Regions from separate parts of the Homo sapiens genome. Here regions 2, 3, 4, 5, 6 and 7 are each linked to region 1. The links are contacts of gene promoters, found by promoter capture Hi-C in blood cells and fetal thymus (Javierre and others, 2016). All regions are on one chromosome and are shown on one strand. The core of a region is centred on a gene start or on the middle of the fragment in contact, and the rest is flanking DNA. Distances in the headings are between cores, read along the strand shown.

Evidence for each region. The method cuts DNA at HindIII sites, captures the fragments that hold promoters and counts their contacts. A CHiCAGO score of 5 or more calls a contact.
Region 2: a fragment that was not itself captured here is called in contact with the fragment with the promoter of CENPU in region 1 in 7 of 17 cell types (non-activated CD4 T cells, activated CD4 T cells, total CD4 T cells and 4 more); the score reaches 8.0 in non-activated CD4 T cells.
Region 3: a contact is called between a fragment that was not itself captured here and the fragment with the promoter of CENPU in region 1, in 3 of 17 cell types (total CD8 T cells, total CD4 T cells and erythroblasts). The highest score is 5.4, in total CD8 T cells.
Region 4: a contact is called between a fragment that was not itself captured here and the fragment with the promoter of CENPU in region 1, in 1 of 17 cell types (activated CD4 T cells). The highest score is 5.2, in activated CD4 T cells.
Region 5: a fragment that was not itself captured here is called in contact with the fragment with the promoter of CENPU in region 1 in 1 of 17 cell types (neutrophils); the score reaches 5.2 in neutrophils.
Region 6: a contact is called between a fragment that was not itself captured here and the fragment with the promoter of CENPU in region 1, in 2 of 17 cell types (total CD8 T cells and activated CD4 T cells). The highest score is 6.1, in total CD8 T cells.
Region 7: a fragment that was not itself captured here is called in contact with the fragment with the promoter of CENPU in region 1 in 1 of 17 cell types (naive CD8 T cells); the score reaches 5.0 in naive CD8 T cells.

The regions. Positions count from the first base shown.
Region 1 is chr4:184,731,322-184,735,345 of GRCh38, reverse strand. It overlaps CENPU (centromere protein U), which reads left to right and starts at 1,250. Exons shown (of 13, transcript NM_024629.4): 1 at 1,250-1,330. The coding sequence starts at 1,284. RefSeq lists a silencer at 1,244-1,303 and enhancers at 1,674-1,793, 944-1,810. The HindIII fragment of the contact is 4,927 bases long and covers 1-3,824 here.
Region 2 is chr4:184,255,734-184,259,757 of GRCh38, reverse strand. No RefSeq gene overlaps it. Among named protein-coding and RNA genes, the nearest start is that of ENPP6, 40 kb to the right of the region's middle. The HindIII fragment of the contact is 5,367 bases long and covers 1-4,024 here.
Region 3 is chr4:184,274,200-184,278,223 of GRCh38, reverse strand. LOC105377582 (a long non-coding RNA gene) reads left to right here. Exons shown (of 6, transcript XR_939552.3): 3 at 896-1,047; 4 at 2,178-2,403. LOC105377584 (a long non-coding RNA gene) reads right to left here. Exons shown (of 2, transcript XR_007058414.1): 2 at 3,962-4,024. Among named protein-coding and RNA genes, the nearest start is that of MYL12BP2, 38 kb to the left of the region's middle. RefSeq lists enhancers at 1,825-3,024, 3,962-4,024. The HindIII fragment of the contact is 361 bases long and covers 2,078-2,438 here.
Region 4 is chr4:184,290,294-184,294,317 of GRCh38, reverse strand. It overlaps LOC105377582 (a long non-coding RNA gene), which reads left to right and starts at 706. Exons shown (of 6, transcript XR_939552.3): 1 at 706-769. LOC124900825 (a long non-coding RNA gene) reads right to left here. Exons shown (of 2, transcript XR_007058413.1): 2 at 1-624. The HindIII fragment of the contact is 9,454 bases long and covers 1-4,024 here.
Region 5 is chr4:184,320,332-184,324,355 of GRCh38, reverse strand. No RefSeq gene overlaps it. Among named protein-coding and RNA genes, the nearest start is that of MYL12BP2, 8.0 kb to the right of the region's middle. The HindIII fragment of the contact is 3,269 bases long and covers 148-3,416 here.
Region 6 is chr4:184,386,122-184,390,145 of GRCh38, reverse strand. IRF2 (interferon regulatory factor 2) reads left to right here. Exons shown (of 9, transcript NM_002199.4): 9 at 1,080-2,417. The coding sequence ends at 1,388. Among named protein-coding and RNA genes, the nearest start is that of LINC02362, 5.8 kb to the right of the region's middle. RefSeq lists enhancers at 1-275, 276-1,009, 3,015-3,773. The HindIII fragment of the contact is 195 bases long and covers 1,972-2,166 here.
Region 7 is chr4:184,416,129-184,420,152 of GRCh38, reverse strand. It overlaps IRF2 (interferon regulatory factor 2), which reads left to right. Exons shown (of 9, transcript NM_002199.4): 3 at 585-684; 4 at 1,445-1,621; 5 at 1,940-1,986. Among named protein-coding and RNA genes, the nearest start is that of LINC02362, 36 kb to the right of the region's middle. RefSeq lists enhancers at 933-2,132, 2,011-2,310, 2,501-2,670. The HindIII fragment of the contact is 6,751 bases long and covers 1-4,024 here.

The DNA.
Region 1 (4,024 bases), core at 1-2,500:
AGCAAAACTCCAACTCAAAAAAAAAAAAAAAAAAAAAAAAAGAACTTACTCATGTAACCAAATAGCACCTGCACCCCAATAATTTATGGAAAAATAAAATAAATAAAAAATAAAAGCAATAGCTTTAGTAAGAAAGGGCACTTGCAGCATACCTACCAAATATCATATAAAGTTTAGAAACATACAATAATCAATACATTATTTGGGGCTATATCAAGGTAGAAAACCACAGGAATGATACACATAAAATCAGAAGAGTGGTTATTCTTTGGAGGAGGAGGATACCATTCAGAGGGGTACCCAAGAGTTATATATAAAAATGATCCATATCCCCATGTAGTGCTGGTTACACGGATGTTTGTTTTTATCTTTACATTACACGTTATATTCTTTCATATGCATGAAACGTAATATTTTTGTCGTAGTAAAATATACATAACAAAATTTAGCATTTTAACCGTTTTTAACTTTACAGTATTGTGGCATTAAGTACCTTCACCTTGTGCATCCATCCACCACTATTTCCAGAACGTTTTCATCATCCCAAACTGCTTTTGGTATCATATCCAAGAAATCATACCAAGTCCAATGTTATGAAGTTTTTGCTCTGTTTTCTTCTAAGAGTTTTAATTTTAGCCTTTATAGTTAGGTCTTTGATTCATTTTGCGTTAATTTTTATACGCGGTGTAAGGTAAGGGTTCAATTACATTCTTCTGCATTACACATTTTTAAACACAAACAAAATAAAAGAACAAAAGGAACCCTGTCCATTTACAAATGAAGGTATTGGGATAGCGGTAAAGTAACATGCTAAGCTCAGACAGCTGATAAAGGCAGCAGGGGCTGGAAGCCAAATCCTGTAGGCCTGGAAAGACGACTGCGGCCTCAGCGACAACAGCTGCGAACACGGGTCTCCACCCACCCTCTTACCTGCCCACGACTCAGGGACACTAGCTCCTCCCCTTTCCCCACCCCACAAGGGGCCGTCCCACGTGGCTCCCGGGCTTTCTGGCGCCGGAAAACTGGCGATGCGGGTGGGCGCGAAAGCCCGGAAAACTTTGGCATGTTTTGGACCGTAGGTAACTGGTTGTGCGGCATGGACTCCAGCTCCGTTGCGCTGTAATAACCAGACCCAGTTTTCCCTCACGCTCCAGGCCAGGGAGGAGCCCGGGGGCCGCTCAGGAAGTCCTGCGCACGCGCGCGTGCTCGGCCCGGATTGGCTGTTCGGAGCGGCGAGGGGCTTGGCGGGAGCTTCCAGTCGCTCGAGAGCGGAGAGCGGCACCATGGCCCCGCGGGGGCGGCGGCGGCCGCGGCCTCACAGGTCTGAGGGGTAAGTACTGCCGACCCTCGGGAGCGCGGGGCCGGAGACCAGCTTGAACTGCTTCCTCGCCTGCCGTGGTTTGCGCCTCCCGGCGCTGTTGGTGCTCCACTGTGGAGGTCGCCCGAGTGGCCAATCGCCCGGGTCCCCGGCTTCCTCCTCAGTCTAGTGGGGATAACAGTGATCCCACCTGCACGGGCCTGTCGGGGCCTAACACTGCCTGGCGGGTGGGAGAGACGTCAGCCAGTGTCGTGTCGTTTTGTGGGGAGGGGGAGTGCCGTCCAAAGTAGTGAGTCTCAAAGTGCTAGCTTGAAAGCAAAATATTCAGCAAATACGTATTGCCTGCGGTTTGCCAGACTTTGTTAGTGGAGTTTTATTCTCTGACTGGGAATCAGTTTTCTTATTTTGAAGACCCTGGTGTTTTCTTACTGCAAACCACAGACCGTAAACTGGAGCATAAATCCGGCTGGGGGACCGAGCTGCCGCTTGCGGTTCTCCAGGATGGCTCGAGCGGTTTTTGTTTACCAAAGAAAGCGAGCGTTTGGTCGGTTGCAAAACGCGCTCTAGAATGCTGGTCGCTGATTCGTTGGCGAATGGCCATCCAAGGCCCGGCCTGGATCTGGCGGGAAGGGTCTCGGCTTGCTGCAGACGGTGCACAAAGCCATACGCCAAGACGATCTGAAGAGAACAGGAGTTCCCCCGGGCCTGGGAAGGCTGCCTGGAGGAGGAGGTGCTGGTAGATGCGGGGTTAGGGTGGAAAAGCTGGAGCAGGACACCGCAGGTGGGTGGGGAAACCGAGACCAGACTTCTGTGGCCAGTGGAGGAGAATGAAGACTCCCCCAGTGCAAAAAAGGATTAGAAGAGAATGTCAGCCTTCAATGTCAGCTGAAAAGAGTTTATCTGAAAGGCTAGTGGTTTTTGTTGTCTTTTTTTATTTTTATCTTTTAACATTTTTGGGTTTGAGACTCATGAAATCTGTTCATGCCTCCTCCCAAAACACACTTACGCACATACAACAGAATTTTTTTTTTTTTTTTTTTTTGAGACGGAGTCTCACTCTGTGGCCCAGGCTGGAGTGCAGTGGCGCAATCTCCGCCTCCCAGGTTCAAGCGATTTTCCTGCCTCAGACTCCAGAGGAGCTGGGATTACAGGCGCTCGCCCCCACGTCCAGCTAATTTTTGTATTTTTAGTAAAGACGGGGTTTCACCATGTTGGCCAGGATGGTCTTGATTTCCTCACCTCGTGATCCGCCCTCCTGGGGTTCCCAAAGCGCTGAGATTACAGGCATGAGCCACCGCGCCTGGCCCAGAAATTTTACCTGTGGGTTGTCACAGAGGTTTCTGTCTCTCAGAAGCCCCACCTTGACTCCAGCGTAAGGCAAGGAGGAACCTTGACTTTTTTTCCCCCCCAAGAAAGGACAAGACAGCTCAAAGAGTTTAGGTTAAGAAGTTTATGTGGTCTAGTGTGTAGCTGGGTTTCTGTTACCTGGCTATGTGACCCTTGATAAGTCACTTAAATTTTCTGAATCCCGGAATCATCATCTATAAAATTGCCATAAAACCAATACTTGTCTTACCTGCTTCCTTAGGTTTCATGAATTAAATAAATAAATCGTGAACTTGTTAGAAATGCAGAATCCCAGACCTCACCCCAGAGGGACTGAATCAGACACTCCTGGGGTGGTGCCAAGCAACCTGTTCAACAAGCCCTCTTGAGAATTTTGATGACACTCAAGTCTGGGAACCACCGCTCTGAACAGTTTTCTAACTTTTTTTTTTTAACTGTGATTCACAGTAATGATGTTTTACATCACACTTAGTACACGTGTGCACACATCCACACATAAAACAAAAGGCTTGTGAACATAGTATATCCAGTGCAATGCTTCATTTTATATTTTCCTTTTTTATTGTTTGTTTTTTTAAAAATGCTGGCCTGGCAATCTTAAAAGACATTATAGGACAATTGATGTGATTTGGGTATGGACTGTAGATTAGATTATGGTATCAGTGTTAAATTTCTTGATTTTAGAAATTGTACCATGAATATGCAGTATAATGCCCTCTTAGGAAAGACATATTGTAGTATTTAGGGGTGGAAGTGCACAGTATCTCCAGACACACACACACACACACACACACACAGAGCACATGAGTAAAGGGCATACAGAAGGTCCTTGTGCTATGTTTGCAACTTTTCTGTGAGCTTGAAATTATATCAGATAAAAGGATACTAAAACATTGGTTTAGACTAAGCTGATTTTGCTGTCTACAAATGAGAAAAATATGGCTGCAATCTGCATGGCATATTTTAAAGTCTAATTATGTACTGTATTCTCCTGGAGTATCCCCCCCGTACCCTTGTACGATGCCTGGTTGGTGGAGGATAGTCTGTACATATTCACTGACTGCTGGCACTATTATTAGTAATAATGATATATAATCCTGCCACTGTTATTTCCCGTTTTTATTCTTGTCACCATTGTTACATTTGTTTTCTTGAAGCTTGTTGAAGATATATATACAACTTTATCATTTGAAGCTGTGGTCCAACTGAGAGAGTGTCAAGGGAGGTCGAGGGCAGGCCCTGGATTTGAACTGATGTAAATTTTAATGCAGGCTTGTCTCCCTCCTGGCTCCGTGTTGCTGTGGGCAAGCACACATCTGTAACATGGGATTCACTTCTACCTTATAGGACTGTTAGAAT
Region 2 (4,024 bases), core at 415-2,914, 480 kb after region 1:
CAGCATGATTGTAGTGAGTAGCGCTGCAGCTGAAAGAGGTTTCTGTTTAATGAAAATGATTTTCATGAGGATGAGAAATTGTTTAACGTTAGCGCACATATCAGATTTAGCAACAATAAACTTATTGGGAAAAGAATTAGCAGATTGGAATGCATCTCCATTTGACAAATCATGGTTGAATTACAACCACAAGTTGACTAAGAATACAAGGTTTTAGCAAAAATCAACCAAAAATTTTCACAGAATTGTATTCTATGAGAATCGATGGCTATGTGAAATTTACATTAAAGAAAAGCATATATTTTATTATTGATTGTAAATCATGTATTACACAGCCTTGATCTCAAATATGTGTATGTATGTGTGTATATATTGTCATAGTCCCTTTAGACTGCTATTACAAAATACCATAAACTGCATGGGCTAGAAACAACAGAAACGTGTTTCTCACGGTTCGAGAGGCTGGGAAGCAAGCCCAGGATCAGGGCACTAGCAGATTCTCTGTCTCATGAGGGCCTGTTTCCTGGTGCATACATGGTGTCTTTTCTCTGTGTCCTCACATGGCAGAAGGGGCAAGGGAGTCTCTGGGATCTCCTTTATAAGGGCATTAATCTCATTCCTGAAAGCCCACCTTCATTGACCTAATCACCTCCCCAAGGCCTCATCTCCTAACTTTGGGGGTCAGGATTTCAACATGTGAATTTTGGGGGACAGAAACATTCAGTTCATTGCATATACATACACATATATTCACATATATTCACACACACATACTGTATGTATAGATATAGTGTATATATAGTATATACATACTATATGTGTATGCATATATACATAATACAATACATATTGCATATATGTATACATAGACATATATTCACACACATTGTATGTATATATATGGTATATACATACTACATGTATATGCATATATGCATAAGACAATAATATATACTGCATATTGTATATGTATATGCAATATGTATTATTTTATTATGCATATGTGTGTGTATATATGTATTTGAAACCCTATTTTATACATTCACCAGCACACCACTGCTTTTGTGAATGAAAGGGGTGCCATTATCACATATGTCAAAATACCGGGTGAAATCAGGACAGTCCCAGGCAATCCAAGAACCTGTGGTCCTCACCAAACTTTCCAGGTCCAGTCCAGCACACAGTCTCCCTCTGGGCTGCCTTTTTCTTACAGCTCCCTCCCCCACCAGAGACCCTGCACAATCCCTCCAAAAAGGCTCTTTCTCGCTGAGTCCCTTTGCCACAGGGAGTCGCAGGAGCATTAAGTGACCTCCTGAGCAACTGTCTTCATCCTGCTTCATCCCTTTCCCAGGCCCTTCATGGAAGCACCATTTCTGGCATTTATGAGCTCTGAGGCTATAGAAGCATCTCATAAAGTTTGTGGGTCTTAATTTTCTTACTGCAAAACGGGACCAATAGCACCTACCATGCAAGGCTGCTGCAAGGATTAGAAATAGCACGTGTAAAGTGCTTTCTATGTGCTTGGCACAAGATACGTGCTCAATGAATGGCACTGTTTTTGCTATCATTACTGCTCCTGCCGCTACTTTGAGTCTCCCCTGGGGCTCTGATGGTTTCGACTCCTTTCACCCACTCTAAAGCTGAGGGTTTCTCCACCCCTTCCCGTGCCCAGTCCAGACTTGTGGGGTGGTGGTGACAGTGAGGGGTGACCAGTGGTCACTCTGCTCTTTTCCTAGAGGGCCTGATACTTAGGGGTGGGCCTCCAGAAGCAGCTCTGGGTCCTCAAACCTGCCCCTTGCCCTAGCTACATGATCCAGCTGTACGCATAATACCCAAGTCAGGCCAACCAGACCACTTCAGCGCTGCCATGGTGGTCAGTCCAGAGGGCCTCCTTGTCCAAGACAGGCCAATGAGAACCCCTCCCTGCACTTTTCTGAGTTGGAATGAAGGGACGGAGTCAGTGCCCCTGATTGGGAGCTGGAGGTTCAGGAGCTGATGGAGATATGTTGGCTATCTAGAAGAGCCAATGACAGAGTGTCTGAAGCCAATGACAGAGTGAACTAGACTCCAGATGGCAGAAGAGTCCTGCCAGGACAGAGGTCACTGAGGCCTGACTGCATCCTGACCCTCTCTTCAGGCACATTGAGATCTCCACTCCCATCACAAGGCAACATCACAACTCCCCTCCCCACTCCCACTCCTTCCCTCCTTCCCTCCTTCCATAGCCAAAATTTGGACATGGAAATTTAGAGATCGAATAGCTTACTCACTCAGATGTTCAAGTTAGCAGTCAAACCCCTATTCTCTGATCATTTTCCCTCCTTCCTTCCTTCCCTCCCTCCCTCCCCACTGCCTGCCTGCCTGCCTGCCTGCCTTCCTTCCTTCCTTCCTTCCTTCCTTCCTTCCTTCCCTCCCTCCCTCCCCACTGCCTGCCTTCCTTCCTTCCTCCTTTTTCTCAAGTCTCACTATGTTGCCCAGGCTGGGCTCAAACTCCTGGGCTCAAGAGGGCCTCCTGCCCCAGCCTCCTGAGTAGCTGGGTCTACAGGCACCCACCATGCCAGGCTCTCTGTTTTTCTTCATTGAGTCTCCAATGAATGGGAGGCTTTGAGCCTGAAAAGTGTGACACTGTATTTCTTTAAGCCCCAAAGACTCCAAATTACTACCCCTGTGCTTTTGAAGGGTTTCTTAAGGGTGATGTATTTCCAGAATGATTTATAACACCTTTGTGTGCCAGGCAAGACGACTTTGCATGTGTGCTTGTTGTCCAGCCCCTGAGGCTGTAGCAGGGGATTCCACAGGACTTTTTTGGTGGGGTATCACTACCATTTACTCTCAACCTTTGCCTGAGCTAATTCAAGTCAGCTTTCCTTCACTTACGTAACAACAAAAACATTCCTAATGAGTCCTCCTAGAGTCCCCAGTTTCAGGAGAGGGAAATCAGACAGGCTCTGCCCCTGCTCTAGGCAGAATAGGCCCCCATTTCATATCAGGGCTCGCTCTTAGTGGTCTGTGTCAAATGCTCAACAGAAGCACATGTCTTGACCCAAATAAAAGGAATGAGACACCAGGCCCAAGACCAGAGGAACCTGATTCTAGAAGGGTCCTGTGCTCTAGGAGGGTCAGAAAGAACTTCTACTACCATCTTGCTTTAGGAGTCCAAGTAAATAACTGACTGAATACACTTTGCTCTGAAGTAGACATATGGTGTCTGATTCGGGGGAACCTGTGCCTCTGCAGCCCCCAAGTCTGTGGCAGGCATTGCCCATCGATCATGACACGGTCCTTGCAGCTTGGGTGCGCCACCAGAGTGCTTCTCATCACAGGGCTGCCGGCCGGCCCTTCTCTGGTGCTCTTGGTCCTTCTTGGAGAAGGACTCAACGGAGCTTGTCTTCTTGGCTGAGTGGGCCTCCGTGTCGAGAGACCACAGCCTATGAAATGGCTGTTTTGGATGTGGTTTTGTGAGTTCTTGCATACGGATATTCTACAATCCACAAAGCCACTCTAGTGTCTCCAAGTCAAAGGTTAATACCCAGGGAAGGTGAAAATCTCCTTTAAAATTGCTAGTGAAAAGTGGGATAAGCCAGAGGAATATAGAATTAGGTTTATGTAGCAGCCTGGGTTTCCATAGCAACGAGATGCAGTTGCGTCAAACACACGACTAAACTTTTCCACACTGGTTTTTAGCCTGGAAGGAGGCTGGAAGAGGGTATTTACTGACCGTGCAGGCGCAGTGAAAATTTGACAGCAAAGCCCTCCGAAAAGTCTCAGTCAAAGCAAATGGCAATGACTCCCCACAAAAATACCACGTGTCAGCCCCCGCTACAGCCTCGCGGGCCGAACCAGAGTGGCACATATGCAAAAGTGTCTCGCTTGTGGGACAAAAGGTATTGTAACTCATCCTGGAAACACACTACCCTTAAGAAACCCCTCAGAAGCACAGGGGCAGTCATTTGGGGTCTCTGGGGTTTCATGAAATACAGCATCACATTTTGCAGCTCAAAGCCTCCTATTTATTGGGGACTCA
Region 3 (4,024 bases), core at 1,009-3,508, 460 kb after region 1:
TTATAAAACCATCAGATCTTGTGAGAACTCACTCATGGTGAGAACAGCATGGGGGAAAATGCCCTCATGATTCAATTATCTCCACCTGGTGCTGCCCTTGACACATGGGTATTATTACAATTCAAGGTGATATTTGGGTGGGGACACAGAGCCAAACCACATCATTCTGCCCCTGGCCCCTCCCAAATCTCATGCCCTCACATTTCACAACACAATCATGCTCTCCCAACAGTCCCTCAAAGTCTTAACTCATTCCAGTATTAACTCAAAAGTCCAAGTCCAAAGTCTCACCTGAGAAAAGGCAACTCTCTTCTGCCTATGAGCCTGTAAAATCAGAGGCAGGTTAGTTACTTCTAAGATACAATGGGAGTACAGGCATTGGGTAAATGGTCCCCTTCCAAATTGGCCCAAACAAAGGGGCTACAGGCTCCATGCAAGTCCAAAATCCTGCAAGGCAGTTATTCAATCTTAATGCTCTGAAATGATCTCCTTTGACTCCATGTCTCACATCTAGGGCACACTGATGCAAGAGGTGGGCTCCCATGGTCTTGGCAGCTTTGACCCTGTGGCTTTGCAGGGTACAGCCCCCTCCTGCCTGCTTTCACAGGCTGGCATTGAGAGTCTGCAGCTTTTCCAGGAGCACAGTGCAAGCTGTCGGTGGATCTACCATTCTGGGGCCTGAAGTATGGTGGCCCAGTAGGCAGCGTCCCACTGGGGACTGTGTGTGGGGGCTCCAACCCCACATTTTCCTTTCACACTGCCCCAGCAGAGGTTCTCCATGAGGGCTCCACCCCTGAAGCAGACTTCTCCCTGGACATCCAGGCATTTCCATACATCCTCGGAAATCTAGTTGGAGGTTCCCAAACCTCAATTCTTGACTTCTATGCACCTGCAGGTCCAACACCATATGGAAGCTGCCAAGGCTTGAAGCAATGGCCTAAGCTGGATCTCGACCCCTTTTAGCCACAGCTGAAACTGGAATGGCTGGGATGCAGGACACCAAGTCCCAAGGCTGCACAGAGCAACAGGTCCCTGGGCCAGGCCCAGGTAACCATTTTCCCCTCCTAGGCCTCCAGGCTTGTGATGGGAGGGGCTGCTGTGAAGTTCTCTGACATGTCCTGGAGACATTTTCCCCATCGTCTTGGTGATTAACATTCAGCTCCTCATTACTTGTGCAAATTTCTGCAGCCTGCTTGAATTTCTTCCCAGGAAATGGGTTTTTCTTTTCTATCACGTCATCAGGCTGAAAATTTTCCAAACTTTTATGCTCTGTTTTTCTTGAACACTTTGTCACTTAGAAATTTCTTTTGCCAGATATCCTAAATCATCTCTCTCAAGTTCAAAGTTCCACAGATCTCTAGGGCAGAGACAAAATGCCACCAGTCTCTTTGCTAAAGCATAGCACGACCTTTATTCCAGTTCCCAACAAGTTCCTCATCTCCATCTGAGACCACCTCAGCCTATACTTCACTGTCCATATCACTATCAGCATTTTGGTCAAAGCCATTCTACAAGTCTCTAGGAAGTTCCAAACTTTCCCGCATCTTCCTGTCTTCTTCTGAGCCCTCTAAGCTATTTCAACCTCTGCCTCTTACCGAGTTCTAAAGTTGCTTCCACATTTTTCCGTACCAGTATAGCAGCACCCCACTCTTGGTACCAATTTACTGTATAAGTCTGTTCTCACACTGCTGTGAAGAAATACCTGATACTGGGTAATTGATAATGAAAAGAGGTTTAATTGACTCACAGTTCCATATGGCTGGGGAGGCCACAGGAAACTTACAATCATGGCAGAAGGCACCTCTTCACAGGGCAGCAGGAGAGAGAATGAGTATACAGCGAAGAGGGAAGCCCTTTGTAAAAGCATCAGATCTCATGAGAACTCACGGTCATGAGATCGGCATGGGGGAAACTGCCCCCATGATTCAATTATCTTCACCTTGTCTCACCCTTGACACGTGGGGATTATTACGATTCAAGGTGAGATTTGGATGGGGACACAGAGACACACAAACTATATCAACACCCTTTAGTCTTGACACTCACAGGTACTTGCCCAAATCCACAGGGAAAAGCTTGGCTCAGTTGCTGGGGTGTGCCATCCACACATTCATCACAAAGTAAAATAATGCCTAACAAAACTGAACACCTGACTCTTTTCCTGAAAACTTTTAAAGCATTAGGCCTATCAAGTGTCATGCACAGCTCAAGAGGAAATGCTATCTGGAAATCCCCCAACTCCCATGGAAATTCCCAGCTGGCTCCCTGTACACTGCAGATACCTGAAGTGGTTTTGAAGACTGGGCAGCTAAGACCTAAGTGAAGAAGAATTCCTCCCCTGCAAGGATGACCAAGAACCCAGCCGCTCTGTTTCCTTCCCGACTGGAGTCCTCTTCTCCACTGGTAGGCACTGACCCCTGCAGAAGCTGCCCCAAGCTTCTGGGACCCAGTAGCACCTTTGACGTGGTGGTCGGTGTTCCCAGTAACATCTCCTTTCTCTGCAGCACCCAGCTCTTAGACTGAAAAGCACAGAGCTTTCCCCACTTCCTTTAATAAACTCAGGAAAGAGTGGGGCTTGGATGGGCTATTTCAGCAATCCGGAACACTTAACAGGCCCAAATACTTTTCTATTTCATGCCTCAGCCCAACTCAGGCAACTCCTATTTTCCTCCTGGAAATGAGAAGTGGACATCCAGGAAGGGCTGTGGAAGAGGCAGAAGTCAGGAGGCTGCGGGTAACTGGGGGCGAGTCGAGTGGTTCTGAGGGCCAGTGTTAAGGTGTAGGCAGCAGAACAGCAGCGAGGGTGGGGTAGGCAGTGGAGTATTAAGAGGGACTGTCACCGAGGGGCAGCTCCACCTGCCCCAGCTGTTGGTCTCAAAAATAAACCAAGCCAGATGCTAGTTAAGTGGTAAAGAAGGATTGTAATATCTATTGCAATAGGGAGAAGGCCCAGCCCAGACTGAACTCCAGTTTGATTTGTGCAGTAGAGACTGGGCGTTTTAAAGGGAGAGTGAGAGAATTGGGCAGGGGTGACCAGGGCTCAGTGGGGTCAGAGAAGTGGAAAACTACAAACAGCAGAGCGGGCTTGGTCCATGAGAAACCCACCTGGGTTTGTTAACAGCCTCCCTCACAGACTGGGGCACAGGGGCCCGATCTCTGGGTGTTGGCTGGAGCAAATGGCAAACTTGTTTGGCAGCCTTGTGTGTCCTTGGGATTGCCTCCCAAGGACACCCAAGGTGGCTGGGGTCACCTAGGGATGCGGCCTTGAGCTATGAGAAGCCATGCTAGTGTTTGTCCAAGTCTTTCTAGGCCAGGGTTGAGGCCTAGTTGAGAAGAGGGCTCAGGGGAGCCTCAGTCGAGTTTGGTCCAGGAGAGAATCTGTCACTGGCCTGAAGTGGTCTCCTTCATACTGAGTGTCCTCAACAGTGGCTTTGATTCTGGGGCCAGGCTGCTAAACACATGGAGCTGATAGTCAGGGCTGTGCTGAGCTGGGAGCCTGACCACATGATTCAGTGTCCTTGGGGTAGGGCTCAGAAGGGTGATCACAGATTTCAGCTCCGACCCAGTATGCACAGATGGTGAAAGGGGCGGCCCACTCTGGAGCCACGGCCACATCCAGGCTTTGGGGTGGAGTTGGGGCTGGCTGTTGGTTCTGCCGAGCCCAGGGGGAAGATAAACCCTTTCCTCTGAGCCTCCATTTCCTCGCTTGCAAAATGAGGACAGGGCCTTTCTCCTGGGGCTGGTGGATCAGAGAGAAGCATTCCAGTAATGTGAGTAGCACTTAATTAGCATTCAGTAAATACTCATTCCTCTCTTCCTTCAGAGGAAAGTTCAGGCAGTGTCTGATTTAATAAACAGGTTAAAGACCAAAATGCCCCCTGTAAGTTGGTTGGTTGTAATTTAGAAATGTATTATATTTAGATTCCCAAGACCACTCATAAACACTCATTTATGCTGTGTGTAACTTAGAAACATGTTATATTTAGATTCCCAAGACCACTCACATTCATTTATGCCAGATATG
Region 4 (4,024 bases), core at 443-2,942, 440 kb after region 1:
GATGAGAAATTTGAGACTCAGATATTAAATAACAACTGTCACACAATCTCTAAGAGGTAGAAACAGAATTCAAAGCCAAATCTGCCCAAATAAAGCTCATTCTCCTGAAACAAATGTCGATATCCCCATTTTACAGATCACAACCCTTTATCAATGAAAACAACTCTGTACAGGTAAGGGAGGCATCCTTCATGAATTCTTCCTCCCGTTTCCACAATTCTTGCAATTAATCAAACAATCTGAGCCAGTCTTCACTTCATGAGAACAGCTGTCTCCAAAATGCTGAGGACATAAACAACTATAGAATAAACTGAGTTTATGGCAGAAAATCTCCTACGATGTGGAAGAAAGGAGACCTTCGTCATCTTTCTCTGTCGTGGACGTCTTCTCAGTGTGTTGAGGTGTGCTCTGTGACTTCCGTGGAAAGGGCATGGCTGTGTCCTTCTATGCATTTTGCAGTCATTCCCATCTGCAAATACCATTCCTTCCATAAATAACAATCACTCATTAACTCCAGGGACTATTGACTTCCCTTTCTTCAATAAACACTTCTGTGGGCTTGCTGTCTGCTTCCTCCTTGCAGCCACGGTAACCATTGTTGGGTAATGCATGGTTGCCAGGCTCCTGAACGGGAGTGAGATTTTTTTTAAACCTGATGTCACATCCAGGACAAACAAGAGAAGTCCTTTTAACCAAATAGGACTCCTATATAACAAGAGTCTTTGAGAAGAGAGTCGTATGACCTAAGATGTCCCCTCCAACTACTTTGGTAAGGGTCCTCCACCCACAGAGATCTTCCTCTATTCTGAGATGGAGAAATAATGATTAGAGACTTTACGCATAAAATGCCTGCTGTGCCAGCATCCATAGGTGGACCAAAATTCAGTTAATCCTCACAACTGCCTTAAACATAGGTACTAATATAATTGCCATTTTAGAGATGAGAAGAGCTAAAATTTGGAACATTGAGCCCTATGTCTAGCGATGAGAGTGAAGCTGGGATTTGGACCCGTGTGAATGATTCTAGGTTGGAGTGTGTGCTGTAAAACACTCTCGCTGGTTCACCTGAAGTTTAGGGCACACATCATTTTCATTATGTGTATTTTACTACCCACTGGCTTTCTTGTTCTAGAGGTGAAAGGATAGGCTCTCTTCTTCTCAATGAGTGAGCTTATACCCGGAAAATACAGACTTTCAGGAAACTGGCAAAACAAAGGCAATCTTTCTCTAACGAGGAGAAAGGGAGAACTCTTGACCAAAAGAGAAAGTGAAGGGCAGCTATGACCAACTGCAAGACCCCTCCCCTCCCCTCCACACACACACTCTCACACACTCTCACACACTCACACTCACACACACACTCACACACACACACAAAAACACTGAGAAAGTGAAGGGCAGCTATGACTAACTGCAAGATCCCTCCCCTCCACACACACACACACACACTCACACACACACACACTCACACATACACACTCACACATACACACATACACACACACATTCACACACACATACACACACACACACACTGTGAGAAAGTAAAGGGCAGCTATGACCAAATGCAAGATCCCCTCCCCTCCACACACACATACACACTCACACATACACACACACACTCACACACACACATACACACACTGTGAGAAAGTAAAGGGCAGCTATGACCAACTGCAAGACCCCCGCCCCTCCACACACACTCGCACATACTCTCTCACACACACACACACTCACACATACATACACACACTCACACATACACACACACTCACACATACTCACGCACACACATACACACACATACACACACTCACACATATGTACACACACTCACACATACACACACACATACACACACACAGACATACACACACACACTCACACATACACACACACAGACTGGGAGGTGCACTGCCCTGATTCCAGCTGGTGGACGGCAGGGGCAGTGCTGGGCCACTCTGGAGTCTCTGAGCCTTTCCATTTCCTATAAGCGGGGATGGTCCTGCTATGGAGGCTGGCTGGACATTCTGGCCTGTGATGGCATCATTCACCAATCATTTAACAACAAACAGCTAGAGTCTAATCACACTCAGACCAATCATTTAACAACAAACAACTAGAGTCTAATCACACTCAGACATTCAAAATCTACCACTTGATTGCAATGCTGCATCGGCCAGCTTTACAAGCGAGGTGTCAATATGGAGAGTGTGTTAGTCCATTCTTGCACTGCTATAAAGAAAGAAATGCCTGAGACTGAGGAATGTATTTTAAGACAGGTTTAATTGGCTCATGGTTCTGCAGGCTGTACAGGAAGCATAGCAGCTTCTGCTTCTGGGGGAGGCCTTAGGAAACACACAATCATGGTGGACAGCAAAGCGGGAGCAGGTGTCTTCCATGGCAGGAGCAGGACCAAGAGAGCAGAGAGGTGCCACAGACTTTTAAATAACCAGATCATGTGAGAACTCACTATCAGGACGATAGCTCCAAGGGGGATGGTAGTAAAGCATGAGAAACTGCCCCCATGAAAAGCATGAGAAACTGCCCCCATGATCCAATCATCTCCCACCAGGCCCCATCTCCTACGTTGGGAATTACAATTCAAATGAATCTGGGTGGAGACACAGATCCAAACCATATCAGAGACCAAAGAAGGACAATCTTCCCATGAAGTTATATTTGCTTAAGGGGCTCCCAAACTGCATTTTCCTGGGGGCCTCTTCTGTGGCAGCATGTCACTACACTGTGAGGCATTATTCCTTGACTATCTGCACCTTATTGACACTCAGATGTAGGCTGACATTCTTAACCTGTGTGAGAGTTTTTAGATTGGTAAGAACAAAAATAAAGGTGAACAACCACACACAGAATTAGTAGAAATAAAAAATAAGCTGTTAATCAAAAGAAAAGAAATGAACTGTCAAAAACGATATGAAAGTAGCCAGTCTTATTCTCAATGAAAGAAATGTAAAATCAATAAGATACTATATTTATTTATCTGCCCTACAAAAAACAAAAGTAAAACCCTTCTGTAGACAGTATAAGAAAACATTTATATATGCTGTAGTGAGAGTATAAATTGGCTTAATTATTATAGAAAGACACCTTGGAAAAAATACCACCTTAAAAGCAATAGATTAGATAGATGAGATAGGTAGGGCTAGGTAGGCGTGCGTGCACACACACACACACACACACACACAGTAAAAAACATACAGTAGTTCTCCCTTCTTCGCCGCTTTGCTTTTCAGTTACCTGAAACCATGCTGTCCAAAATATTATAACTGTGTTCAACTATGGTCCAAAAATATTACATACAGTAAGATATTTTGACAGAGAGAGAGAGAAAAACCCTACTCACACAACTTTTATCAGAGTATATTGCTACAATTGTTCTATTTTATTAGTTATTGTTGTTAATCTTCTACTGCGCCTAATTTATACGTTAAACTTGATCATAAGTATGTATGCAATAGGAAAAGACAGTTTCCAGAAGGTTCTGAAATGCGTGGTTTCAGCATCCACTGGGGAGCTTGGAATGTACCTACAGCAGGTGAGGGGAGACTACTGTGTATATATTGCATGTCCTTTGACCCAGCAACCCAACTTTCAGGCATGTAATCTGAGGTGATTAAGAATGTATGACCCGGCTGGGCCCAGTGGCTCATGCCTGTAATCCCAGCACTTTGGGAGGCCGAGGCTGGCAGATCACCTGAGGTCAGGAGTTTGAGATCAGTCTGGCTAACATGGCAAAACCCCGTCTCTAGTAAAAATACAAAAATTATCCGGGTGTGGTGGTGCACACCTGTAATCCCAGCTACTCAGGAGGCTGAGGCAAGAGAATCGCTTGAACCTGGAAGGTGGAGGTTGCAGTGAGCTCAGATCGTGCCACTGTACTCCAGTCTGGGCGACAGCGCGAGACTCTGTCTCAAAAAAAAAAAAAAAAGGAAAAAAGGATGTATGACCAATATACTTGAAAAGATGCTTAACCTCACTAGAAATCAAGGAAATGCAAATAAAA
Region 5 (4,024 bases), core at 533-3,032, 410 kb after region 1:
AAGTTTTCCTAAAGTTGCAGTTATATTTTAGCCTGCTTTAGATGGCAGTTTTGCTTTCAAGATATTTAATTTTTTTTTATTAAAACCAAAAGCAAAGGCTTTAAGAAAACTAATTTCCCAGAATGTGTTTCTGTGATTCTGGAAGCTTTTCCTGGTGGGGCTGAGATCGGAAGCAGAGCCGTCAGGCCAGCAGAATGGGGGGGAGGGGCCGTGGAGATGGAGGAGATGGGCTTGTGAGTGCTCTGGGATGGAAAAGCCGTGGGAACACAGTCTAGTCTGTCCTTTCAGCCAAAGACCCCCAGGCGGAACTCTATGGCTCAAGGTGTTCCAAGTCGTCATTTATTTTCATATTTGTACTTTTTATTGTGATGAAATAGACATAAAATTTGCCATTTGAACCACTTTTAGGAGGCCGGTACACTGGCATTGATTACATTCACAATGCTGTGCAACCATTGCCACCATCTATTTCCAAAAATGTTTTCATTATTTTCATCATCCCAAACAGAAGCTCCATATCCAGTAAACAGCAGCTCTCTCTCCCCTCAGTCCCTGGTAACGTCTCTTCAACCTTCTGCCTCTATGAAGTTGCCAATTCTAGGTTCCTTGTATGAGCAGAATCATTCAGTGTTTCTTTTTTGGGTCTGGCTTCTTTCGCTTAGCAGCATGTTTCCAATCAATGTTCATCCATGTCGTAGCCTGTGTCAGAACTTCATTCCTTTTTTTGCTTGTTTGTTTTTTGTTTTTTGAGATGGAGTCTTGCTCTGTCACCAAGCTGGAGTGCAGTGATGCTATCTCGGCTCACTGCAACCTCGGCCTCCTGGGTTCAAGCGATTCTCCTGCCTCAGCCTCCTGAGTAGCTGGGACTACAGGTGCGTGCCACCACGCCCAGCTAAATTTTGTATTTTTAGTAGAGGTGGGGTTTCACCATGTTGGCCAGGATAGTCTCAATCTCTTGACCTCAGGATCCTCCCACCTCGGGCTCCCAAAGTGCTGGGATTACAGGTGTGAGCCACTGCGCCCAGCCCTTCATTCCTTTTTATGGCTGAATAATATCCCATTGTAGGGATACATTTGTTTATGCATTTCTTTCTTTCTTTTTTTTTTTTTTTGGTTAGACAGAGTCTCGCTCTATTGCCCAGGCTGGAGTGCAGTGGCATGATCTCAGCTCACTGCAACCTCCACCTCCCGGGTTCAAGCGATTCTCTTGCCTCAGCCTCCCAAGTAGCTGGGATTACAGGCACCTACCACCACACCTGGCTAATTTTTGTGTTTTTAGTAGAGACGGGGTTTCACCATGTTGGCCAGGCTGGTCTTGAACTCCTGACCTTGTGACTCACCTGTCTTGGCCTCCCAAAGTGCTGGGATTACAGGCATGAGCTGCCATGACTGGCCTGCATTTATTTTTTGATCCGACATTTTATTTGAGAAAATTGTCAGTGATTTATTTTAAAAAGAGCATTTTTTTTTTCCTGATGGGTGTTAAAGTGGATATTCCTTTCTGTTGAATAGGATGTGGTATACAGGTATTAGTGTGAGGCTGATGACTAAGAGCATGTGGCATTTCTGTGAGTGGCACAAGAGCCTAATAAAAATCAGTATCTACCCTGAAATTCTAAGTGAATTTACCTTGTGCCCAGGGCTTTAACTTTTCCCTAGATTCTGGAAAAGCATACTGTCCATGGCCTAAAGTTTGTGGGATGAGAAAGTTTTCACCTGGTGAAATGTTTGTAGGTGATTACATTTTGGGGGCATTGAATTTTTTTAAAATAAGAAATCTAAAATGTGATACATACACACCATGGAGCACTATACAGCCATAAAAAAGAAAGAGATTATGTCCTTTGCAGCAACATGGATGAAGCTGGAGACCATTATCCTACGTGAACCAACTAACACAGAAACAAAACCAGACACCACATATTCTCCCTTATAAGTGGGAGATAAACATTGAGTACACAAGGACTCAAAGAAGAGAACAGCAGACACCAGGGCCTTCTGGAGGGTGGAGGGAGAGAGGAGGGTGAGGATCGAAAAACTACCTGTCAGGTACTATTCTTATGACCTGGGCTGTGGAATAATCTGTACACCAAACTCCCATGACACGTAAGTTACCTACATAACAAACCTGCATATGCACCCCTGAACCTAAAATAAAAGTTAAAAGAAAGAAAAAAATCTAAAAATCTTGTTGACATATTAAATATTATGTGTGTGTGTGTGTGTGTGTGTATATATATATATATATATATATATAATTTTTTTTTAGACGCTGTCTCGCTCTGTCACCAGGCTGGAGTGCAATGGCATGATCTCGGCTCACTGCAACCTCCGCCTCTCGGGTTCAAATGATTCTCCTGCCTCAGCCTCCCAAGTAGCTGGGGCTACAGGTGTGCACCACCACGCCCAGCTAATTTTTGTATTTTTAGTAGTGACAGGGTTTCACCATATTGGCCAGGATGGTCTTGGTCTCTTGACCTTGTGATCCACCCACCTCGGCTTCCCAAAGTGCTGGGATTACAGGCATGAGCCACCGCACCTGGCCAAATGTTATACTTTTTAAAAAAAATAAAAACAAACAAACAAAAAACTAAAATCTACACAAATGATTACTTACTCCTTAAAAATCAGGTAGGACAGCCAGGTGCGGTGGCTCATGCCTGCAGTCCCAGCACTTTGGGAGGCCATGGTGGGTGTCTCACCTGAGGTCAGGAGTTTGAGACCAGCCTAGCCAACGTGGCAAAACCCTGTATCTTCTAAAAATACAAAAATTAGCCAAGTGTGGTGGCAGATGCCTGTAATCCCAGCTGACTATGGGAGGCTGAGGCAGGAGAATCGCTTGAACCTTGGAGGTGGAGGTTGTAGTGAGCTGAGATAGTGCCACTGCACTCCAGTCTGGGCGACAGAGTGAGACTCTGTCTCAAAAAAAAAAAAAAACAAAAGATCAGGTAAGGCGACTTGAAGTTTTAAAACATTTATGCAGAGGACATATTACAGAAGAGAACATGTACTTTTCCAGTTGCAGAATGTTTTCATCTGATTTTCTGGAAGCCCCATGACATAGCAGAGTTCTTTTCTTGCTTATCCCCCTGGTTTTGTTCCATCTTTTGCTACAGCCCTTCTCAACCTACTTCATCATTATGCATTAATTAATCCATATGGTAAGTTAATTAATAATTATCACTGATAGATTAATAAGTATATTAAAAAGAATTATTTCATAATAAAATAAACAATTCATGGTATTCATTAATAATTTAACAATTATGCTACAGGAAATTATTCAGTAATTAATACAAATTAAAATGGATTTCTTTTTGTCATATTTATTCATGATTCTCCAAAAGACCTCCCCCTAGATATTTCTGATTCACCACCAATTGGCTTTATTCTCTTGACACCATAAGAAACAAGCTTTTTAATGCTGGAAACATTTATTAGAGTTGACAGCCGTGCTGCAGAGGCGCGGACTGAATGTTCCAGGCGGATGTTTATGCTCAACTCACGTGTAAGTAATCACTGTAAGTCATCTTACGAAACCCCATGCAGCCTCGGTGCTGGTTAATAACTAAGTTTGTGTGCAAATTTATAGGACTATTTATAGGACTAGGTATTAATGGATCAGACAAGAGAGGGAAGTGAGCTGTAGAGAATTTAAGTTGCAGAGAAGAACTTGAACCCAAGTCCTCACCCCATAAACGCTACTGTTTTCTTCTCTGAATAGTCCATTGACACCAGGGAGTATGGCTTTAAGAGGAGCTTTGCAAAGTTTAGTTGAATTAGCTGATAAAAGTGCTTCAGATGTTAGGAAGCCAGTAGCCACGTCAGGCCCCCATTTACGAGAAAGCTTAGACTAGCCCATCCACCTGGGCAGAATTTATCCTTTTTAGTGCATGGGTCAGGTCTGACATTGTTGGAGGTGTGTGTTCTCGCTGCAAATAGCTGGGCTTTGTTGCTAGAGTTGACCATCTTGTTGTAGGCTGAATATTAAGGCCTAGGTCCATATGTGCATGTGTGGTCTTTG
Region 6 (4,024 bases), core at 820-3,319, 350 kb after region 1:
ACCTGCTGGGGGTCTGCGCTTGAGTGAATGAGAGAGAGAGAGGGAGGGAGCAAGAGAGAGGGAAGCTCATGGTTGTTTGAATTAGTGGTTTCCCATGTACTAAACACTTTGAGAAAAAGTGCAGGGATTCTGAAAAGACAGATGTACACGCTCCCATACACCCTGGCCTGATTTCTTCAAGGTTGCAGCTCTAGCCACTTCTCTGAATGAAGCCAGCCCTGAGGCCGCTGCTTGCTGTACACCGTGGAGCTCTAAGCCGCCCCCATTTGAAAGCAATCAAGGGGCATTCATTGCCTGTCACTAAGTTCCTCGCTGCCTTTTCTCTGAAAATGCAGGTTGGCTCAGGTTGACTGGGCCAGCATTGAGGGACCGAGTCGCTGTGCCACACTGGCCATGGTGACCTGAAACCTATCGAATAATCGGGCCGAGCCGCAGAGCACAAGGGAACCAGAAACCAAGCTGCTGCCTTCTTTTCCTGCCTTCACAGAGTAGTCTGGAAAGTATTTCTGGGAGGTAGCAAATGGGAATTGATTTTTTAAAAAAAAAGAAAAGGGAAGAAAAACCATTACTTGGCATATGAATAGCTGGGTGCAATAGATTTCAGTTGAGGGATGTAGAGGTGCTAAGCCTTTGTTCATTCTGCAGTTCTTAAGAAACTCAGCTAAAGCACCAACACATGGGAACGACACATTTTTCATTTTAAAATTTTTTTTGTGGGTTGTTGTTTTGAGACAAGGTCTCATTCTGTTGCCCTGGCTGGAGTGCAGTGGCGCAATCATAGCTGACTGAGGCCTTGACTTACTGCGCTCCAGTGATCCTCCCGCCTCAGCCTCCCGAGTTGCTGGGGCTAAAGGTGTGCACCACCATGCCTAGCTAATTCTTACGTTTTGTAGAGATGAGGACTCGCTACATTGCCCAGGCTGGTCTCAAACTCCTGAGGTTAAGTGATCCTCCAGCCTCAGCCTCCCAAAGTGCTGGGATTACAGGCATGAGCCACCACACCTGGCCAGTGATGCATTTTTAAAAAGCCATCCAATAGAAGGAGAAGGAAATACATATCTTAATTACTTTCTTGAAAGGGGCGGCCACACTGGCGGAAGAGGAATATTGAAGGCAAACAGTACCTCAGCAACATGGGGACTCGAGGCTCCTACCTGCTGCCCGGCATGGCGTCCTTCGTCACTTCCAACAAACCGGACCTCCAGGTCACCATCAAAGAGGAGAGCAATCCGGTGCCTTACAACAGCTCCTGGCCCCCTTTTCAAGACCTCCCCCTTTCTTCCTCCATGACCCCAGCATCCAGCAGCAGTCGGCCAGACCGGGAGACCCGGGCCAGCGTCATCAAGAAAACATCGGATATCACCCAGGCCCGCGTCAAGAGCTGTTAAGCCTCTGACTCTCCGCGGTGGTTGTTGGGGCTTCTTGGCTTTGTTTTGTTGTTTGTTTGTATTTTATTTTTTTCTCTCTGACACCTATTTTAGACAAATCTAAGGGAAAAAGCCTTGACAATAGAACATTGATTGCTGTGTCCAACTCCAGTACTGGAGCTTCTCTTTAACTCAGGACTCCAGCCCATTGGTAGACGTGTGTTTCTAGAGCCTGCTGGATCTCCCAGGGCTACTCACTCAAGTTCAAGGACCAACAAGGGCAGTGGAGGTGCTGCATTGCCTGCGGTCAAGGCCAGCAAGGTGGAGTGGATGCCTCAGAACGGACGAGATAATGTGAACTAGCTGGAATTTTTTATTCTTGTGAATATGTACATAGGCAGCACTAGCGACATTGCAGTCTGCTTCTGCACCTTATCTTAAAGCACTTACAGATAGGCCTTCTTGTGATCTTGCTCTATCTCACAGCACACTCAGCACCCCCTTCTCTGCCCATTCCCCAGCCTCTCTTCCTATCCCATCCCATCCCATCCCATCCCATCCCATCCCATCCCGCTCTTTTCCTACTTTTCCTTCCCTCAAAGCTTCCATTCCACATCCGGAGGAGAAGAAGGAAATGAATTTCTCTACAGATGTCCCATTTTCAGACTGCTTTAAAAAAAATCCTTCTAATCTGCTATGCTTGAATGCCACGCGGTACAAAGGAAAAAGTATCATGGAAATATTATGCAAATTCCCAGATTTGAAGACAAAAATACTCTAATTCTAACCAGAGCAAGCTTTTTTATTTTTTATACAGGGGAATATTTTATTCAAGGTAAAATTCTAAATAAAATATAATTGTTTTTTATCTTTTCTACAGCAAATTTATAATTTTAAGATTCCTTTTCTTGTTTATCAGCAGTTGTTATTACATCCTTGTGGCACATTTTTTTTTTTAATTTTGTAAAGGTGAAAAAAGCTTTTATGAGCTCATGTAGCAATCAGATTTTCCTGTGGATTGATAATAAATGAATATGATATATAGTTAAATTTTTAAGGGGCATCACTCCTGGCTTTGTCTGTGTCTGCTTTAAAAGAGCATAATCACGGAATAGGACTGACAAAGGATTGTTTCTTTTTGGGGACCAAAATGTTTTCCCTTGTTGACCACAAGAAACCGTGGAGGTTCTTACTGTGAGGCTTCAGTTGACTTCTTCTCTTGAGTGCTCGCCTGAGCAGGGGCCCGTGCTGAGCGTTTTGCATGACTTCCCGTCTTCATTCATCACACTTGTGCTGTAGAATAGGCATTCATCTCCATTTCATGTGGAGGAAATGAAGACTGAATGTGAAGATGCCTTTACTTGGCTCATAGTGGCACTAAGAGGCAAGGGCACAAGTTGGGCACAAGTTGAGCCCAATTCTCTGTGCTATGAAGGGGGTCTTTTTTCTTGTAAGCATATCCGTTATCTCAAATGTCTGTCTTCCTCTGTGTTGGGAGCATTCCCTGTGGAGGGGGAGTATTTTAGCCACGCCACTGGTTTCCTTCTCTGCTGTGAGCAAGGTTCACCCCACTCTGTGTCTTTCCTGTTTTCATCCTTAGGCTTACACGTACGACAAACGTCTTGTGTTTATGTCACTTAGAGGGGTGCATGGATAAGACATTTTCCACAACAGGAAATATGTATTGGGCTCTAACACCATGTCCGTCACTCGTCTTTCTAGGACCCGAGGCCTTACACATAGACCGTGCCCTCAAAACTTGGGGTCTGTCTTGTGGAATAAAAGGGGTGACTTCAAGAACACCAGTCTTTATCAGCCACTTGGTGTTTGAAGGTATAGTCTTGGCCTGGAGAAAGCCACAGCACCAGCCTCCCCTGCATCCCCAGTATCTTACTCTGTAAAATCAGAATATGAAAACTTTGCTACCCGCCTACTACCTCTGGGGGGTTGTGGAGGAGATTGCTAAGTTAATATTTGAAGAGGTTCCTTTAATGAAAGGACAAAAGGCTATTTTTATGCCTATCTCCATGTGTGGCTGCAGATATAATTAGCGGTCATAAAGTTATCCAGCCCTGAATGGAAATCAACTGGAGCATTTTCCTGGCGGATGCGTTGTAGTTGAAATGCCACACACAGAGGCGGGGCTGCTTCTGGAAGGAGCACTTTCGTTGACTGTCTCAGTTTCTCAGTGGAAGGGGAGTTATCAGGAAGAAACAGATGCTCCCTGGCTCCTTGGCACCCGACTTTTCAGTTAAGACCTGCTCTTCCCCCAGGTCCTGAATGGAGAAGTTCAGTTCTTTGAGACTTACATCTAAAATGTTTTACTGAGTCATCCTATTTTAAATAAATTAACAAAACAGCAACGGAAGGTTGCCCTGAGTCACGTGGCCTGGTTATCAAAGGGTTTAAGGTAGCTCAGGTCTCCTCCCCCTTCCTTCTTCCCAACACAGACTCAGGGCTTCTTCCTGCATCTCGGTCCCGAATGCCATTCCTGCTGCCCTCCCCTTGCTTCTGTAGCGTAACTAGACTTCCCAAGGCCCATCAAGTGGAAGAAAATTCAGGACTTGGAAATGCACCATTTAAGTTCCAGAGATGATACTCCATTGCCAATAAGGCCATGAAAAACAGAATCATGTTTAAAATCCTTCTGAGAAAGC
Region 7 (4,024 bases), core at 713-3,212, 320 kb after region 1:
CTCACACCTGTAATCTCAGCAGTTTGGAAGCCTGAGGTGGGCAGATCACTTGAGGTCAGGAGTTCGAGACCAGCCTGGCCAGCATGGCAAAACCCCATCTCTACCAAAAATACAAAACTTGGCCAGGCGTGGTGGCACATGCCAGTAATCCTAGCTACTCAGGAGGCTGAGGTGGGAGAATCTCTTGAACCCAGGAGGTGGAGGTTGTAGTGAGCCGATATCGCGCCACTACACTGCAGCCTGGGCAACAGAGCGAGACTCTGTCTCCAAAAAAATATATTGAAAACTAGAAAAGAGGCACAAATAATGGAACACACAAGGTCAAATCATCACCTTTGACCTTGGAAAACATTCCTGCTCTGCAAGACTTCACGAGACTGACTGTCACTCGGGGTAGTCTATCAAGATTTGGGATCCAGCGGGGGAAGTGGGTTTGGTTTACAGTAGATTTTCTTGTCAGCAGTCAACACATTCAGCGATGCTTGCTGGGGAATCTTGCTGGCTAGACCTTCACAACCTTTTGCAATGGTGGGCCAAAACCCATGACTCCAGTTCTTTACCTTTTTTTTTTTTTTTTTTTTCAGGAAAAGAAGATTTTTCAGATCCCCTGGATGCATGCGGCTAGACATGGGTGGGATGTGGAAAAAGATGCACCACTCTTTAGAAACTGGGCAATCCATACAGGTACTAAAACTCCCTGCGGCGTTTATAGAGGAAGGCACTCTTGCTTAGTTTTGTTTTTATTACACATAAAATAGCCTGGCTTATGACCTCATGAAGATGGCTCTGAAAAACCTGTGACTTGTCCCTAGGCACATCCAGGACACATGGGGTACAAACTGCAGCCCTCAGAAGTAATGCTCCCCTCATCCCATACACTCTTAGTCCTTCAATTTCCTATAAATGTGGTATTCTAAGAAGTTCCCTAGGTGTTACCGGGGAATAGAAACTCAGTTGTTCTGATGCTATAAACTTTGGTCAAATTTATCTCCCCCCCAAAAAGGTAGTCAGAAATACCTGTATTTATTACAACCTTTACGTAGGGAGCTGTTTACAGGAATGGACTTTGTTGGAGCGTCAGATGAAAAAGAGGCACTCAGCTTCCCTCTGCCTGTTGACTTTGCAGCCTCTCAGTCTTCTATATTTTTCTTACGCTGATGCTCCATTCTTCCAGCATTTATAGTTTCCTCAAGCTGTTCAGTAGAACCAGGGTGACCAACTTGTCCCAGTTTGACTGGAACTGTTCAGGTTTTAAAAACAAAATTCCCACATCCCAAGAACTTTCTCACCCCCAGGTACACCAGGACGATTGGTCACTGGAGGTATAGCATGGAGTGAAAAGGTTTCCTTATACTGCCTGACCAGCAATACTGTGTTTCCAGAAATTCCTTCCTCTGTATCTAATGTTTTCTCTCTTTTTCTTAATCTTTGTCTCTTTTGTTAGGAAAGCATCAACCAGGAGTAGATAAACCTGATCCCAAAACATGGAAGGCGAATTTCAGATGCGCCATGAATTCCTTGCCTGATATTGAAGAAGTCAAGGATAAAAGCATAAAGAAAGGAAATAATGCCTTCAGGGTCTACCGAATGCTGCCCCTATCAGAACGGCCTTCTAAGAAAGGTAAAGGCATTTACAGACTAAAATAAGGTAAATCAATTTGTGTCATCGTGCCTTCGTGATCTCTTCATTTCTACATCTGCAGTCAGTTTGCAGGTAGAATAGCCTGTTCATGCTGTAGGGGATCATTCCGCCCCTACCTGGCTTGGAAACAAGACTTTCGATTCACCAGAGGCAGTGAAAGATACATGTGGAATTTTGACCATGTACAGATTAAAGCAACAGGTTCATTGAGAGTTTCAGAAAGAATTTAATTTGAGGGAAATGTTTCTCTGGAGGCCCTTCGTGAATTAATCCAAAACTACATTTTTGTTGCCACAGGAAAGAAACCAAAGACAGAAAAAGAAGACAAAGTTAAGCACATCAAGGTAATCTTGGGTGATTCAGAGAGAAAGCCAAAGTTGGGATCCTATTAATGACTCATATTCTGCCTTGTAAAGATGAGTCACAGGACCTCAGTGTGTCCTCTTTCTTCCTTTGCTTGTGTCTTCTGTGCTTTACATGTTTGCTCTTCAGCATGTATCCACTTGCAGACATGGAGGTACACAGGGCCCTGCCTCATCCCGTTTCTCTGGGAAATTTATGAATGAAGTCACAGATTCTCACTGTGCTCGGCAGGCTGAGGCCTCCATCTGGCCACCACAGCCGTTGCCAGTGGTCATTTTGTGCCAGCTAAACTCCACAACAGCTTATTCTCATACTATTAAGTATATTTTCAGGCTATTAAGTATACTTTAATATGTATTAAATGTTATAGACCTCTATACAATGTATGAACTCTATGTTACAGACATTCCGTCACAGGCCCTTTGGTGGGGGACAGAGTGGTCAATGTCAGCACTCTATCAGAACAGCTCTCAATGGCTGCCTTCTGTCCACTGTAGAATCATCTCTCACACCCCACAAGGGTTTTCCATGGGATGTGCATGTGTGTGTCAGCTTCTCACTAGGCTGTGTCGTCTGAACTCCCCTACAGTCTGAGGATCTTTATGCATAGATTAGGTGGCCCTTGTTAAATAGTAAGAGAAGAGCCGAATATGCCCTGCAAAACTGGGGACGAGCTTCAGTGGCTGAGCAGAGAGCATACACTGCGGTCACAGACCCAGGGATCTCAGAGAGATTGTCGAGCTCCCTGGCCTCCCTTTGCAGATGAAGAAATTTAGGCGGAGGGTGTTTTTGCAGTGATGCTTTCAGTTTCACTTTTACTAGTTTTTATTTTTAACTAAATTTAAATATTGTACTGTATTAAAGGCCTAATTTTGTTTTAACTTTTCATTGTGGAAAGATTTTATGCACATAGGAAGGAGACAGTTGAGTAAAATTTACCCCATAGGCCATCATTCAGATTAATTTTAACCTTAATCAGCTCCTGGCCAGTTTTGCTTCATCAATAGCCCCTCCCATTTCCTGACTTCTAACATGAAATTGCAGCCCTTCAACCATTTTTGACTTACAGAAGTAATTTATTTATTTAATTTTTTTTAAACTGAGATGGAGTTTTGCTCTATTGGCACAGGCTGGAGTGCAATGGCGCGATCTTGGCTCATTGCAACCTCCGCCTCCTGGGTTCAAGCGATTCTCCTGCCTCAACCTCCCGAGTAGCTGAGACTACAAACACGTGCCACCATGCCCAGCTAATTTTTGTATTTTTAGTAGAGATGGGGTTTCACCATGTTGGACAGGCTGGTCTTGAACTCCTGACCTTAAGTGATTCGCCCACCTCAGTCTCCCAAAGTGCTGGGAATACAGGCGTGAGCCACGGCACTCGGCCCCAAAACAATTTTTTATAGTTCAGCTTTTTTTTGAACTATTTTTTGGAATTTGAAGCAAATTCCAAACCTCATAGCATTTCTTCCATAATAGTTCAGTATATATATTTAAAAGATAAGTGCTCTGTAAAAATACCATGATGTCATTACTGTACCTGAAAAAGTTCACAGTAATTTCTCAATATCAGTGAATATCCAGCCAGTGGTCAGAGTTTCAGTTGTTTCATACATGTTATAACATTCGTGTAGTTTGTTACTTAAATTAAGACCCATATAAAATCCACATGTGATTTTTGAATGTCTTTTAAGTATTTTTTAAGGATATATGTTTCTCCTATATTACCTCTTAAAACATTTTTTTTTTTTTACAATTGAACAAACCTAGTTGTTAGCCATATCGTTTCTCACAGTTTTTTTTTTCGTTTTTTTTTTTTTTTGTTTTTTTTTTGAGACAAGGTCTTACTCTGTCACCCAGGCTGGAGTGAAGTGACGCGATCATAGCTCACTGCAGCCCCAACCTCCCGGGCTCAGGTGATCCTCCCGCCTCAGCCTCCCTCTAGTAGTTGGGTCTACAGGTGTGTGCCACCAAGCATGGATAATTTAAAAAAATTTTCTTTTATAGAGGTGAGGTTTCATT